Regions from separate parts of the Homo sapiens genome. Here region 1 is linked to region 2. Evidence: promoter capture Hi-C in human tissues and cell types (Jung and others, 2019). All regions are on one chromosome and are shown on one strand. Each heading gives the region's core, a stretch centred on a gene start or on the middle of the fragment in contact. The rest is flanking DNA. Distances are from core to core; before and after follow the strand shown.

What was found. Contacts are between HindIII fragments. The study calls those that stand out against the background at their distance.
Region 1: a fragment that was not itself captured here is called in contact with the fragment with the promoter of CHRDL2 in region 2 in 1 of the 25 tissues and cell types used here (lymphoblastoid cells).

Annotation. Positions count from the first base shown.
Region 1 is chr11:75,269,014-75,275,594 of GRCh38, forward strand. It overlaps ARRB1 (arrestin beta 1), which reads right to left. Exons shown (of 16, transcript NM_004041.5): 11 at 5,061-5,198; 12 at 3,882-3,965; 13 at 2,688-2,711. Among named protein-coding and RNA genes, the nearest start is that of TPBGL, 32 kb to the left of the region's middle. RefSeq lists an enhancer at 3,546-4,047. The HindIII fragment of the contact is 4,235 bases long and covers 1,498-5,732 here.
Region 2 is chr11:74,728,711-74,735,067 of GRCh38, forward strand. CHRDL2 (chordin like 2) reads right to left here and starts at 2,716. Exons shown (of 11, transcript NM_001278473.3): 1 at 2,097-2,716. The coding sequence starts at 2,178. The HindIII fragment of the contact is 7,141 bases long and covers 1-5,275 here.

The sequences.
Region 1 (6,581 bases), core at 2,365-4,864, 540 kb after region 2:
CTTGATGTCGATGCCCTGTCAGTCCGAGGACTGCAGAGGGTTTTGCCGTCAGAGGAGGTAGATCCAAAAGATGCCCTCCAGCCCCAGTTCTGCCACTCGGAGCCTCGGTCTGCCTGGGAGCTGGACGAGGAGACTTCCTCTGGTCCCAAAAAGAAATGGAAGCCTCCTCTTTCCTGAGAAGGCTCTCTGGGTTCCCACGGGCTGGGAAGAGGCCCAGGGGTGGGAAAGGATTGCCCGGGGCAGCATGCACCGTGGTCACTGCGGGGCTCCAGAGGTGCCCTGGGACCCCCCCCCACCTCAAATCGCCACAGCCACCCTCGCCTCCCCTGACACTGCCCTTCCCAACTTCCAGGTCGGAGCTCCTCCCACCCTCACGCCATCCCATCTCCCAACACCTCCAGGGTGCTCTTGTAAAAGTGCTCAGGTGACCCTAGCACCCCTGCAATCTGGATGAAGCACTGTTGAGGTCAGTTTAGTCAGGTTTAGGATGGCCCCAGGGCCCAAGGCTGATTACACTGTGGGGATGCAGGGGAAAGCGGCCGGGAAGACCCAGCCACCAGCCAGTGCTTCTGATGGGGCTTTCTCTGTACTTGGCCCTGATGGACAGAATAAGAGAAGGTATTCACATGGTACTGACCCTGTGCCAAGGATTACTGTAAGCCCCTTCCATAGAGTAACTCATTTAATCCTCGCAACAACCATATTATTATCCCCAATGTACAGACTGGGACATTGAGGCATGAGGAGATTAAAATATCTTGCCCAAGGCCACACAGCTATTAATGGTTATTATTAGATTCTGGCTCCATAACCACACCCTTGATCACTGTGTGACAGTAGCAGAATTGAGACTAACAAAAGCAACCCTGAAGGCTCCTCTCGGCTTGGGGTGACATCACCCTAGGAGACCACCCAACTGCGAGTGCCTACAGGCACAAGCCACATCCCACTGATCTTGTTGTCCAGAGCCCAGTTGGGAAAGAGGAAGGGACAGGGAATGGAGTGGTCAGAGGCACAAGCCGTGCAATTAGAAAGGTCTGTTCCACCAGCCTCGCCACCCGCTGGTGCAGCACTTTCTAGCTTTGAGTCTCACTGAGCTCAACTTGGAACAAAGCCTGTCTTCTAGAACCACGGGAACTTCTGGGAGATGAGGCAGCTAAAGAGCTGAGTTAAACTGTGAAGCTTGACCAGGCGCAGTGGCTCACGCCTGTGATCCTAGCACTTTGGGAGGCCAAGGCGGGCAGATCCCTTGAGCTCAGGAGTTCGAGACCAGCCTGGGCAACCTGGTGAGACACTGCCACCACCACCCATCTCTACTAAAAATACAAAAATTAGGCTGGGCGCGGTGGCTCACGCCTGTAATCCCAGCACTTTGGGAGGCCGAGGCGGGTGGATCATGAGGTCAGGAGTTTAAGACCAGCCTGGCCAAGATAGTGAAATCCTGCCTCTACTAAAAATACAAAAATTAGCCGGGTGTGGTGGCGGGTGCCTATAATCCCAGCTACTTGGGAGGCTGAGGCAGAGAACTGCTTGAACCTGGGAGGCAGAGGTTGCAGTGAGCCAAGATCGTGCCACTGCACTCCAGCCTACCCGACAGAGTGAGATTCTGTCTCAAAAAAAAAAAAAAAAATTAGCTGGGCATAGTAGAGCACACCTGTAGTCCCAGCTACTCAGGAGGCTGAGTTGGGAGGATGGCTTCCACCCAGGAGGCAGAGAAGGTTACAGTGAACCAAGTTTGTGCCACTGCACTCCAGTCTGGGCAATAGAATCAGACCTTGTCTCAGAATAAAAAATAAAAATAAAAATGTGAAGCTTGTGCCTGCCAGAATCGTTACTTAAGTCCCCTCATTGGGAACCTGGGGGTTTTATAAGGCTGTCAGAGCTATTTGGCCTTTTTTTCCTTCTCTTTTTTTTTTCCTTTTGCTTTGGGGATTGCTTCAGAATGGAGCTGGTGGAAGACTGGGTTTGCCAACATTTTAGTGGAAGAATCTGGATCTTAACCTTCTACCGGGCCAGGAACGATAAGGTCAGGGACCACATCTGATTCCTCTCTGGGACTCTGGCACTCAGCACCAGCCTGGACGCAAGCCTGGGTTGAGGAAATCTTTGCTGAATGATATGGAACTGAATTGAATTGAATGAATTTCACCTGTCAAATTAGTTTAAGATTTCTTAGGATGAGCCACACTGCCATCTTGTGACAGAAGGAGGCCAAACTGCTGTGTTTGGGGTACATGCATTTTTGGAATATAAGTGCATCCAGCTGGCTGCAAGGAGACCTTGTTTACAAAATAGGATCTCCTGAGGACCTCTCCTTAGCAACACTTGGCCAGCAGTTCCCTCCTCACTAGTGTAGAAGTTTGAAAGCCATGAAGTCTGCATTTCTCCAAAAGCTCCTATAATTCAGGTGATCAGTAATTCAGACAGCTCTCTTGGGGGCCACTCCCTGTATCAGTGTAATCAGGCTTTGCTCTCTGTAAAGATCCCTGTCACTCAGGTGGGATGGAAGAGCAAGGTGAGGTTTGTTAAGGAGAAATTGTGTCTCCCAGCTCACACCTGAACCTGGCTATCTGAAATGACCACTAAGATTCCTTCCAACCCAGTGCCCTGTGATTCTGGTCAGTCAAGCCAATGGGCTCCAGGCCCTCCAGGAAGGTGGGTGAACCAGGTGGAAGGGAGGAATTTACCTGGATGCAAGATCTCCCAACAGGCTGGGTGGGTCAGAGGAGGCAGGAGAAGTGGTCAGGAGAGAGTTCAGAGAGGAAGAAAACAAAAAGCACATTCATTCACCACTTCTGCTGTCCCCCGGATAGAGAAGACCCACGGGACACACTCCCACCCACCCCCCTGCACAGCCCTGACTGCTCTTTCAGGGATACACCGAAATGGCATTAGCCCTGCCCCGAGGGACTGGGATCCAGACCCAGCTCAGCAAACCCCTGAGCCCCAGGATCCTCATCTGTCAAGGCAGTGTAAAAATTAACCCCAGTGCTGCCTGTCCCAAGGGAGGCCGGACTATCTAAAGGCAGAGGGAAGGACTCCGGGGTTGCCAAGAATGTTTGAGGGACTGTGGGTCCTGAAAGGTCACCAGACACAGGATTTGGGATTTGTAATTTTGAGATGTCCTATTATATAAGGTCAGGATTACATACTGCCACCTGCCAAGAGGCATTCTTCTAATAATCAAGGAGACCCAATGTCTAATGGGATTTAGCTTTTCAATCTTTTCATAGAAATTTATGAATTAAGTTACAAAAAAGAAACACAGTAGTTTGTTTGTTTGTTTTTCTCCCTGAGCTTCCACCAAACTATGCTCCAGGGCAGGGCAGTCTGGTCCACCACTATGACCTGAGTTAGGAGAGGAGATTTCAGGCAATGTTTGGGGCACTGTCTGGGCCTCTGTTTCACCATCTGTAAAATGGGAAAGCTGACTAGCAAATCCCCAATCCAGCTCTGGGTTCTGAGCCCTTTTAGCTGTTTCCTCAGAAAATCAGCTTGGGCATGCATGGGGGTGGGTGCTATGCCCAAAGTGTGATAAGGAGATGGCACCCCTGGGGACCCCACAGCAAAGACTCTGAGGACGCCGTCCCCTGGGCATGGCCAATCCTCAGTGCGAGCCCAGACCTAGGATAGAGGAGGAGGAGAGAGAGAAAGAGATGGGTGGGGGTAAGAGAGGGGCTGAGGGCCAAGGAAGGAAGAGAGGGAAAGCGGGCGGGGGAGAAAGAGGAACAGAAGGGAGGAAAAGAAGGGACAGGAGGTTCCTCCTCCAAGGTGGATGCAGCTAAAAGGGCTGCAAACAGGCAGAATGGGGCAGGGGCCTGTGGGCACCTGGGACGCTCCCCTCTGCACTCCGGGGTCTTGGGCTTGGCTGGAGCACTCACCCGCCCCGAGACACCACCAGCTTCACTTTCACTTTGTAGGAAACAATGATCCCCAGGATCTCACGGTTGGCACCTTCCCTCAACCTGCAAAGTGACACAGGGGAGCCAGTTCAGGGGCCTTGCCAGGTGGGCGAGACACCTCAGGGGTGGGTATGCTGGGGGGCAGTGGCCGTCCATCCCCCATCTGGCTAGCCACTCAGCTACCATGTCCAATAGAGCCCAGTGGAGATGAGGAAGGCGAGCAGTGCCCTTAGGTAGCAGGGACCCAGAGCCCCGGTTCCAAGTCTGACTGTGAGACTCGCTCACTGTGTGGCCCTGCTGAGCCCCTCTCCCTGCCCAGGCCAGCGTCCCCGCCATGAGGGCCAGGCTCCTCCTCCCCTCAGATGGATTCTGCTTCTCTCAGCAACCCATGGGCAGAAAGGGCCACACGGGGAGTTCACAGAGGGCGAGGCAGCTGGGGTGGGGTGGGGTGGGGGCCATCAGAGAAGGACTTCTCCGCAGAGGTGGTGCTTCAGCTGGGTCTTGAAGATGGGTAGGGTGTGAGCCAGGGTGGAGACAGGGCAAAAAGCTTCAGGTAAGTGGGAGGCTGTGCAGGGGCTGCTGAAGAGAGCTGAGTCTGTGCTGGGAGTGGCGGCTGCTCTAGACGTAGGCCAAAGCCCCACTGAAGGACCACACTGGCAAGAGGGCAAGATGGCATCCCCATAGCCAGGGCTCTGCTGGAGCAGAGTAGCCTAGAGGCGTCCACGATGACTGTGCAGCAGGAGTGACCAGATGCCCTGGGACCCCTGACTTGGAGGGGCACCCCATGTTGGGTCTAACCCAGCTCACCACCCTGGTCTCTCCTCAGGGACACCCCATCTGACTGAAGGCATTACGTCAGAAGCTGCCACCTCTTGCAGGAAGCCTTCCCAGGTTGCCCTCCCCCAGGCATGGTAGCAGAGCCCAGCACTGCCTGAGTGAGCTGGCCTAGTGGTCCATCTTATTCTCTCAGTCACCCCTGGGTAGGGTTGGGAGTAAGGAGGCAGCTTCCCTGACAAGTCAAGCACCTGAGGACAGGCCCTGACAAGGCTATGGAGAGGGTAGCCTGAGCCTTGTCTTTGAACTGGGGGGACCAAGGAGGGTGTGGCCCCATCAGGCAAGATGCACTAGGAGCCCAGGGCTAGGAGGGCAGGTCCTCACAGGGTGCTAGAGGCCAAGTTCGTGTCTTCGTGCTTGAGCTTCCCGTCCAAGGCGAGGCCCCGCTTCTCTCGGTTATTGGCTAGGAAGGGGGTCAGTGTGTAGACCTTGCAGAACGTCGAGCTGGGTGCCACAGTGTCACTGGGAAGAAAGGAAGCAGCTGTGGAGATGGCCCTCCCCAGAGCCAACCCCAGCCCTGATCTCCAGCCCAGCAGAATATCTAGTCTGAGCCTGCTCCAAGTCTCCCTCTCCCAACCTCTGTCCCCCAGACACACGGACCACTTGGGCCAGCCCAGCTCGGGCAAGGAGACCACTGCCACTCAAAAGAGGCACATCTACATTCTACGCACAAACAGGACTGAATCTCGGATATTCTAAAAGATTATCCTAGTCAAGCAGCACAGTGCTAAAAAGCACATTTATTTAAAGAATTACAGCCAGCCGGGTGCAGTGGCTCACGCCTGTAATCCCAGCATTTTGGGAGGCCGAGGCGGGTAGATCACGAGGTCAGGAGTTGGAGACCATCCTGGCTAACAAGGTGAAACCCCGTCTCTACTAAAAATACAAAAAAATTAGCCGGGCATGGTGGTGGACGCCTGTAGTTCCAGCTACTCAGGAGGCTGAGCCAGGAGAATGGCATGAACCTGGGAGGTGGAGCTTACAGTGAGCCGAGATTGCTCCACTGCACTCCAGCCTGGGTGACAGAGCAAGACTCCATCTCAAAAAAAAAAAAAAAAAAAGTACAGCCACAGCAGGCACAGTTGCTCATGCCTGTAATCCCAGCAACTTGAGAGGCTGACAGGAGGATTGCTTGAGGCTAGGAGTTTGAGACCAGCCTGGGCAACATAGCAAGACCCCATCGCTACAAAAAATTTTAAACATTAGCCTGATATGGTGGTGCACACCTGTAGTCCTAGCTACTTGGGAGGCTGAGGCAGGAGGATCACTTGAGCCCAGGAGTTCGAGGCTGGCTGTAGTGAGCCATGATCATACCACTGCACTCCAGCCTGGGCAACAGAGTGAAACTCTGTCTCTAAACAAATTTAATTTAAATTTATTTTATTTTATTTTATTTTATTTTATTTTATTTTTTTGAGACAGAGTCTTGCTCTGTCGCCCAGGCTAGAGTACAGTAGTGCGATCCTGGCTCACTGGAACCTCCACCTCCCAGGTTGAAGCAGTTCTCCTACCTCAGCCTCCCAAGTAGCTGGGATCACAGGGGCGCGCCACCATGCCCGACTAATTTTTGTATTTTTAGTAGAGATGAGGTTTTGCCATGTTGGCCAGGATGGTCTCAAACTCCTGACCTCAAGTGATCTGCCTGCCTCAGCCTCCCCAAGTGCTGGGATTATAGGCGTGAGCACCAGCCCTGTCTCTAAACACATTTTAAAAAGAAAAAATTATAGCTACACATAAACCATAAATGAAGCTATTTGGGCACCCATATACCCACCATCTAGGCTCAACAATTAAAACTTTACTTGCTTGATCACATCCATCATATATAGGGTGTTTTGATTGTCC
Region 2 (6,357 bases), core at 1,466-3,965:
GTGACCTTGGGCAAGTCACTCTTCTCTTCTGGGCTTCAATTTAACTCTAAGTATAGGTATATTGATGGGTAGAAGCAGATGGTTTTTGATAGTTTCACCAGCTCTAACATCCAGGAATCTTAACATTCTCCAATGAGTGCCAGTCCACCTCACCCTAATGAGTTGGCTCCAAGTCTTTTTCTCACATGTCTGGAGATCTGTATTTACAAGGCTGTAGGGAAGATGGAATACTGGCAGGACCTGCTGAGAGGTACAGAGCTGAAGGCCAGGGAGGCACAGACGAGGGAGATCAGAGTGGATCAAGTCACCGGGGAGAGTTTGCTTGAAGAGGTGTGACCTAGGCAAGGCCATGAAAGGCTGACAAGATATGGGAAGCAAAGAAGCAGGGTGTGGGTAGGATAACAGTCTGGTTCTAGGACATCTTTCCAAGATGCATCAAGGGCAATGATATCTGGAGAAAAAATTGCAGGGACTAAGAACAAGGTGTCAAGTGGATGGGAGGCAGGCATGGAGGGCATCCTGTGCAAAGTCTCTTTTAAGAAATAGGAGGCAGGTGTTAGGAGGAAACCCTCAGGGTTCAAGAAAGCGGAAGAGACATTTATTAAGTACACAGCATTGTGCTGGGCACTTTAATCCGTTACCTCCTTTAATCCTCCCAAGAACCCTGCAAGTTCTGGATTAGTATCTCTCTTAGACAGATTAGGAAATTGAGGCTCAGAGAAGTTATGACTTACAAAAAGTCACACAGCTCTAAGGGGCACGGCCAGGATTTGAATACAACACTGAGCTAATTCCATTACTTGTTCTATGTAATGGAAAGACTTATGTGAGTCTCATGCTGCTGGCAGGCCAGAGACACTCAGCCTGCTCTCATGAGCAGAAACAAGACCGTAACAAAGTCCAGCACTACCAGCTCCAGAATGTCACGTGCAAAAGAAAGGCATAGATGGAGGAGCTGAGCTGGGGAGAGGAAAGAGCACCAGACTAGGAGTTGGGAACGCAGGGTCTTAATCCCAGGCTGTGCCATGTATGTCCTGGAGAAACCCACTGCTTGAATGAAGCTCCTTTCTTCTGATTAAGAGAATGTGGTTTGGTTTTCCATCCTCACAGCATTCTAAGAGATTGGCTGGGCATGGGGAGGGGGGACCACCAGCCTATTGTGGGCGCAGTGAGGAAACTGAGGCTCAGATTGATGATGTAACCTGTTTGATGTTACACTGTATCTATGTGGAAAAGCATAATTGGGAACTGATTTTTTTTGGAAGCTATCAAGCACCAGTCTTGTGCTAGCTGCTTTACCTCTTTTCTCTAATTTAATCCTATCAACTCTCCTAGGATTTTTACTTCCGCTTTATAGATTAGGAAACCCAGGGTCAGAGAGGTGCACTCTGTGACGGCCTCCCAGCAGCTGGCATTCAGCGGGGCTGGGATGGTGAAGACGCTGGTCTATCTCACTGTGCCCTGCCGCCTCCCAGAGTCTCACACTGCAAATTCAGGGTTCCTTCTAGACAATGTGAGGCAGGGAATAAAGCATGGGATCTGGAACTAGAGTTCTGGCTTTGGATGGCTTACCCGCTCTGTAAGTTTTAGCAAGTTCCTCCTTGCTCAGCCTAAGTTTTCTCATCTGTAAAGTGCGAATGATAATACCCACCTCACTGGAGAGTTGCGAGGATCAAAAGAGAGAAAAGAATGGGAAGGTTATCCTAATTACCTCTCATTTCTGTCCAATGGCTCTTTCCAAAGGCAAAAAGCCTTTTCTTCTCCATCACACTCCTTACCTGTAGCCAGACATACCCGACTCCCTCCTAGGAACAGTAAGTCCTCCCCCAACCCAAAACACAGTGCCCTGCCCTCTCCCCCCGCTGCCCTTGGTGCCCCTCCTCAGGTCCCTGGCAGCAGCCCTCTCTCAGTTCTGAGTTGTGCCGAGTTCCTCCGGTCCCCCGGCCCATACTGGTCCTCACGGAGTCTCCACCCCTCCGGCACAGGTGCTGCCTGGACGGCTGTCAGAAGAGCTTGGGGTCCAGGTCCTGGCGCTGTCCCTCACATTCCAGGGGCCGCATCCCTCCTCTGCCCACCCAGCCTCCCGGTCTACTTACGGGCTCGAGCGTGGGAGTCCAGGGGGAACCAGAGCAGCGCGAGTCCCAGCAAGGAGGAGAGGACCCTCACCTCGGGAACCATCCTTTCCCCAGGGTCAGGCCGCTGGTCCGGGAGCGGAGTCGGGAGGAAGGGAGACGAAAAGGACACGGAGGCACAGGGGCCACAGATCAACCCACAGACCCCAGGAGGTCTGCTGCTAGAGCGGGGTCGGAGAAGGGCCAGGAAGCAGCGGTGGGCAGGAAAGGAGGGCAGGAAGGGAGGTCTAAGGTGGGAAGAAGAGAAAGGTGGAAAGAGAACGCGGGGAAAGGAGGGAGAGATGGAGAGACGAAGGAAGGTCCAGCAGAAGGGAGAGGCGATCAAAGAAAGGGGGAAGGTGAGAGGGAGAGGAGGAGAAAGCAGGGAGAGGACCGGCGTCTGCCGAGCGCGCAGCGCCGGGCGAGGCGCGCGGGACCAGCGGGTGTTGCGGGCGCGCGGGCTAGAGGCGGCCGGCGCCCCCTGCTCGGTGGGCTCGGGGTCGGGCCGCGGGGGCCTGGGGCCCGGCGGGGCGGCGGTCCCAGCAGCGGCGGCGGCGCGGCGGCCGCGGAGGGAGGCTGAGCGCGGGCCGGCTGTGCTCGCCAAGGGCTTCAGGCGCCGCGCTCGGGCGCATTTGTACTTTGCCGCGGGAAGCAGGCAGCCCGGCCTGGCGCTGGCCTAGCGCTGGCGCCTCCTCTGGGGCACCGCGGGCTCGGTGGATTGGCCACCCGAGAAACAGGCCCACTTTTTCCCCTCCTCTCTTGTGCGGGTCTCCGGGACGGACGCTCCAGGCGCGGCGCCGAGTGGAGGCGAGGGGGCTGCGGAGGGGGAAGGGGCCACGCGGGCCACGGGGTTTAACCCCTGACTCCCCGCGACGCCAAGAATGCAGGAGGGCAGAGTTGAGGGAGACCTCAGGTGGAACTTTCAGGTGGGGAAGGCTGAGCTGTCGGGGCTGCGGGTACCGGGAAGGCTCAGGGTAAGGCGCTCGGCGGTGCGTGCCCGGAACTCCGCAGATGGATGGAATCAGAACACTGGCGTTCTTAATTCAGTTTGTGGTCTACAGCACGCCACCGGAGAGTCTGTTTTCCCAGCTTTAAAATGGGCATTTTAAGATCTTAAAATATCTCTACTATCTTCCCACGAGTGTTGCTAAGATGAAATAAGGTAATGAACGTCGAAACACTCACCCCACAAAGAGAAGGGGTCCTAATTCCAGGTGCCTACAATACCAGTGGCCCCTGTCCCCACTCCGTCTGCCCATGCGCCATTCTCAGGAAAGTCAGCCCATAGGGATCCTGTGCCTTCCCCTGGAGGTCTTCCTCTGCTCCCCGCTCCCACTCCCGAATCAAGGCAAGATCTCTCCTTTGCCTTTGCAGGTGAGGCCTGCACTTCTCTGGGAGTGATGGTCACCTTCAGTCATCTTTAGGGAGAGCTGATTGTCAAAGAGTTTTCTTTCCCACCAGAAGGGGAGCTCCCTGAGGACAGGGCCCTGACACCCTCCAGCCCTCAAATGGTGCTCCATCTCTTGTGTTGAATGAACACATGCACTAATAGGACACTAAGAAGAGAATAGCCAGCTCTGGCCAGACCAGAAACACACAAGCTCTGAAATCAAAAGGGCAGAGTCACTGTCCTGGCTCCATCCGTAACTTGTTGGGCCACTTTGAGTAAATACATCTATCCTTGCTTTGGACCTCAACTTTCTGCCCAGCTTCTCTTGAAGAGCTAATGGAGACTCCAAAGAGTGCCAGAGGAGTATGAGGTGGGAAGGGATGTTGAGCCATATCCCACTCTGGTAGGGAATCATATTTCCGGGTTTAAACACTTGGCTGGCTGGCTGTAAAGGTATCTTTCTGGGCCAAGGCTGGGCTCCCCATTGCACTGTGCTTTCAGGGTATTACCCCCAAGATCTCCACCCTCCAAAAGAGAGCAGTAGGAGGAACCAGTGATCCCCAAACTGGCCCTTCCTAGGGCTCTCAGGATCAGGGACAAACATGATCTGTCCAGTGCCCTTCAGGCTTAATTTCTACTCTAATCTGGCCAGTCTCTTCCTTTCCCCTGAGTATTCTTTATTTTAACAGATAGTGCAAGCTTATGCATGTCACCATGCTTCCCTTTTTGCCTTTGCTTCCAGGGATCTCAGAGTTAAATCCTGTGCTGCTTAATTGCATAAACAATCTCATCCCAAGGGTTTGGGACAGTGATCTTTTCCTTTCTCTTTGTTTAAAATGTGCTGTGCACATATATTCATGTCTTAGATGTAAGAAGTGGATTAAGATGGGTTCCCCTACATCCTGCCCATCATACTTCAAAAAAGGCCTCCACCATCTCAGCCCTCCTGTCCATCCCTATTATCCCCAGAGTTGAGGCCAACTTCATTCCTTTTTTTTTTTTTTTTGAGATGGAGTTTTGCGCTTGTCGCCCAGGCTGGAGTGCAGTGGCGTGATCTGGGCTCACTGCAACCTCTGCCTCTGGGTTCAAGCGATTCTTCTGCCTCAGCCTCCCGAGTAGCTGGGATTACAGGCATGCACCACCTATAATTTTTGTATTTTTAGTAGAGATGGGGTTTCGCCATGTTGGCCAAGCTGGTCTTGAACTCCTGACCTCAGCTGATCCACTCACCTCAGCCTCCCAAAGTGCTGGGATTACAAGCATGAGCCACCGCACCCGGCCATCTTCATTCCTTACTTGAACTTTCCCAACAGCCTCTTACCAGGTCTCCTCCCCCTAATCTGGATCTCTCCTATCTATTTTCCTCACACCTGCCTTGAGAACTATGCTGATCATTTCTACTGACAAATCTGATCACATCACTTTCCCACATAAAACCTATTATTCACTTCCTATCATTTATAGGTTAAAATCTAAAATTTTCAGCACTGAATTGAACACCACGCATATTTTAGTTCCAATCTACCATTGCCACCTACCCTACACTTTGGCCAACCGCTCACCTCCCCAAACTGACCATGCGTCGTCGCACCTCCATATCCTCACACATGTTTTCCTTCTGCCTGGACTCTCTCTTCCTCCATCTAGTGAATCCCATTTAACTTTCCAAAGGTCAGTTGAGTCACCTCCACTCCAAGGTCTTCCCTGAGTCCCCCAGGCAAAGTCAATGTTTAGTCTTTGTGTTTCCCATAGCACTTTGAATTGTAGCTGTTGGAGTGTAAGTATTTATTTGCATTTTTACCCTGCACTGTGAGTGCAGGTGCCTTTTGAAATTTATATCTGTAATTCGAGCATTTAGCAAAGTCCTTGACACACAGATACTGAATAAATAATTGCTACATGAATGAGTGAAGACCTCAGTGATTGGAAAAGCCTTCAGCCCACTATTGGCCTCAGCTTTAGTCAATGATTGACATAAGAAACAAACACTTGAAAGTTTCTGTGTCAGGCCGGGCCCAGTGGCTCACACCTGTAATCCCAGCACTTTGGGAGGCTGAGGTGGGAAGATGGCTTGAGCCTAGGAGTTTAAGACCAGCCTGGGCAACAAAGTGAGACCCCCCCCCAACTTCGTCTCTACAAAAAGTAAAAAAGATAGCTGGGCATAGTGGCACGCACCTGTAGTCCTAGCTACTCTGAAGGCTGAGGCAGGAGGATCGCTTGAGCCCAGGAGGTTGAGGCTGCAGTGAGCCGTGTTTGCACCACTGCACTCCAGAGCAAGACTGTCTCAAAAAGAAAAAAAGAAAGAAAGAAAGTCTTTGTGTCTTCTGTAGAAATACTATTGAAGAGAGTTGTCTATATATTATTTAATACCCTTTTAAAAAGGAGACTGAATAAATTCTTCCAAAATCTAGTCAGGAAAAAAAAATGCATCTCCCCATAGCAGTTTGTTGCACTAAGAGTTTATCTGGCATCTGCTTTCTTCCTTCATAGCGAACTTGCTCATTGCCTGCCAAGGCAGCCCATTCCACTGTTGGACAGCTCTGTTAGAAAGTTCTTTATATTAAACTGAAATCTGATTCTCTGTGACTGCCTGTGTTGCCCCTCACTCTGTCCCCAGGGCTATACAGAACAAGCCAAGTCCTTTTGTCTTTTGAGAGCTCTCTAGAGATTTGGGGCAGAGAACCCCTCTTCCATACCTTCACCTTTACCAGTCTGGGTCCCGGGACCCCTCATGCCATATTAAACATTGTCTTCAAATGTGCCAAGCTCTTGGGCCTCCATGACTCTGCAAACACTGTTTCTTCGCCCTGGAATGCCCTCTCTGTACTCACTTTGATTTGTCTGGCAAGCTTACTT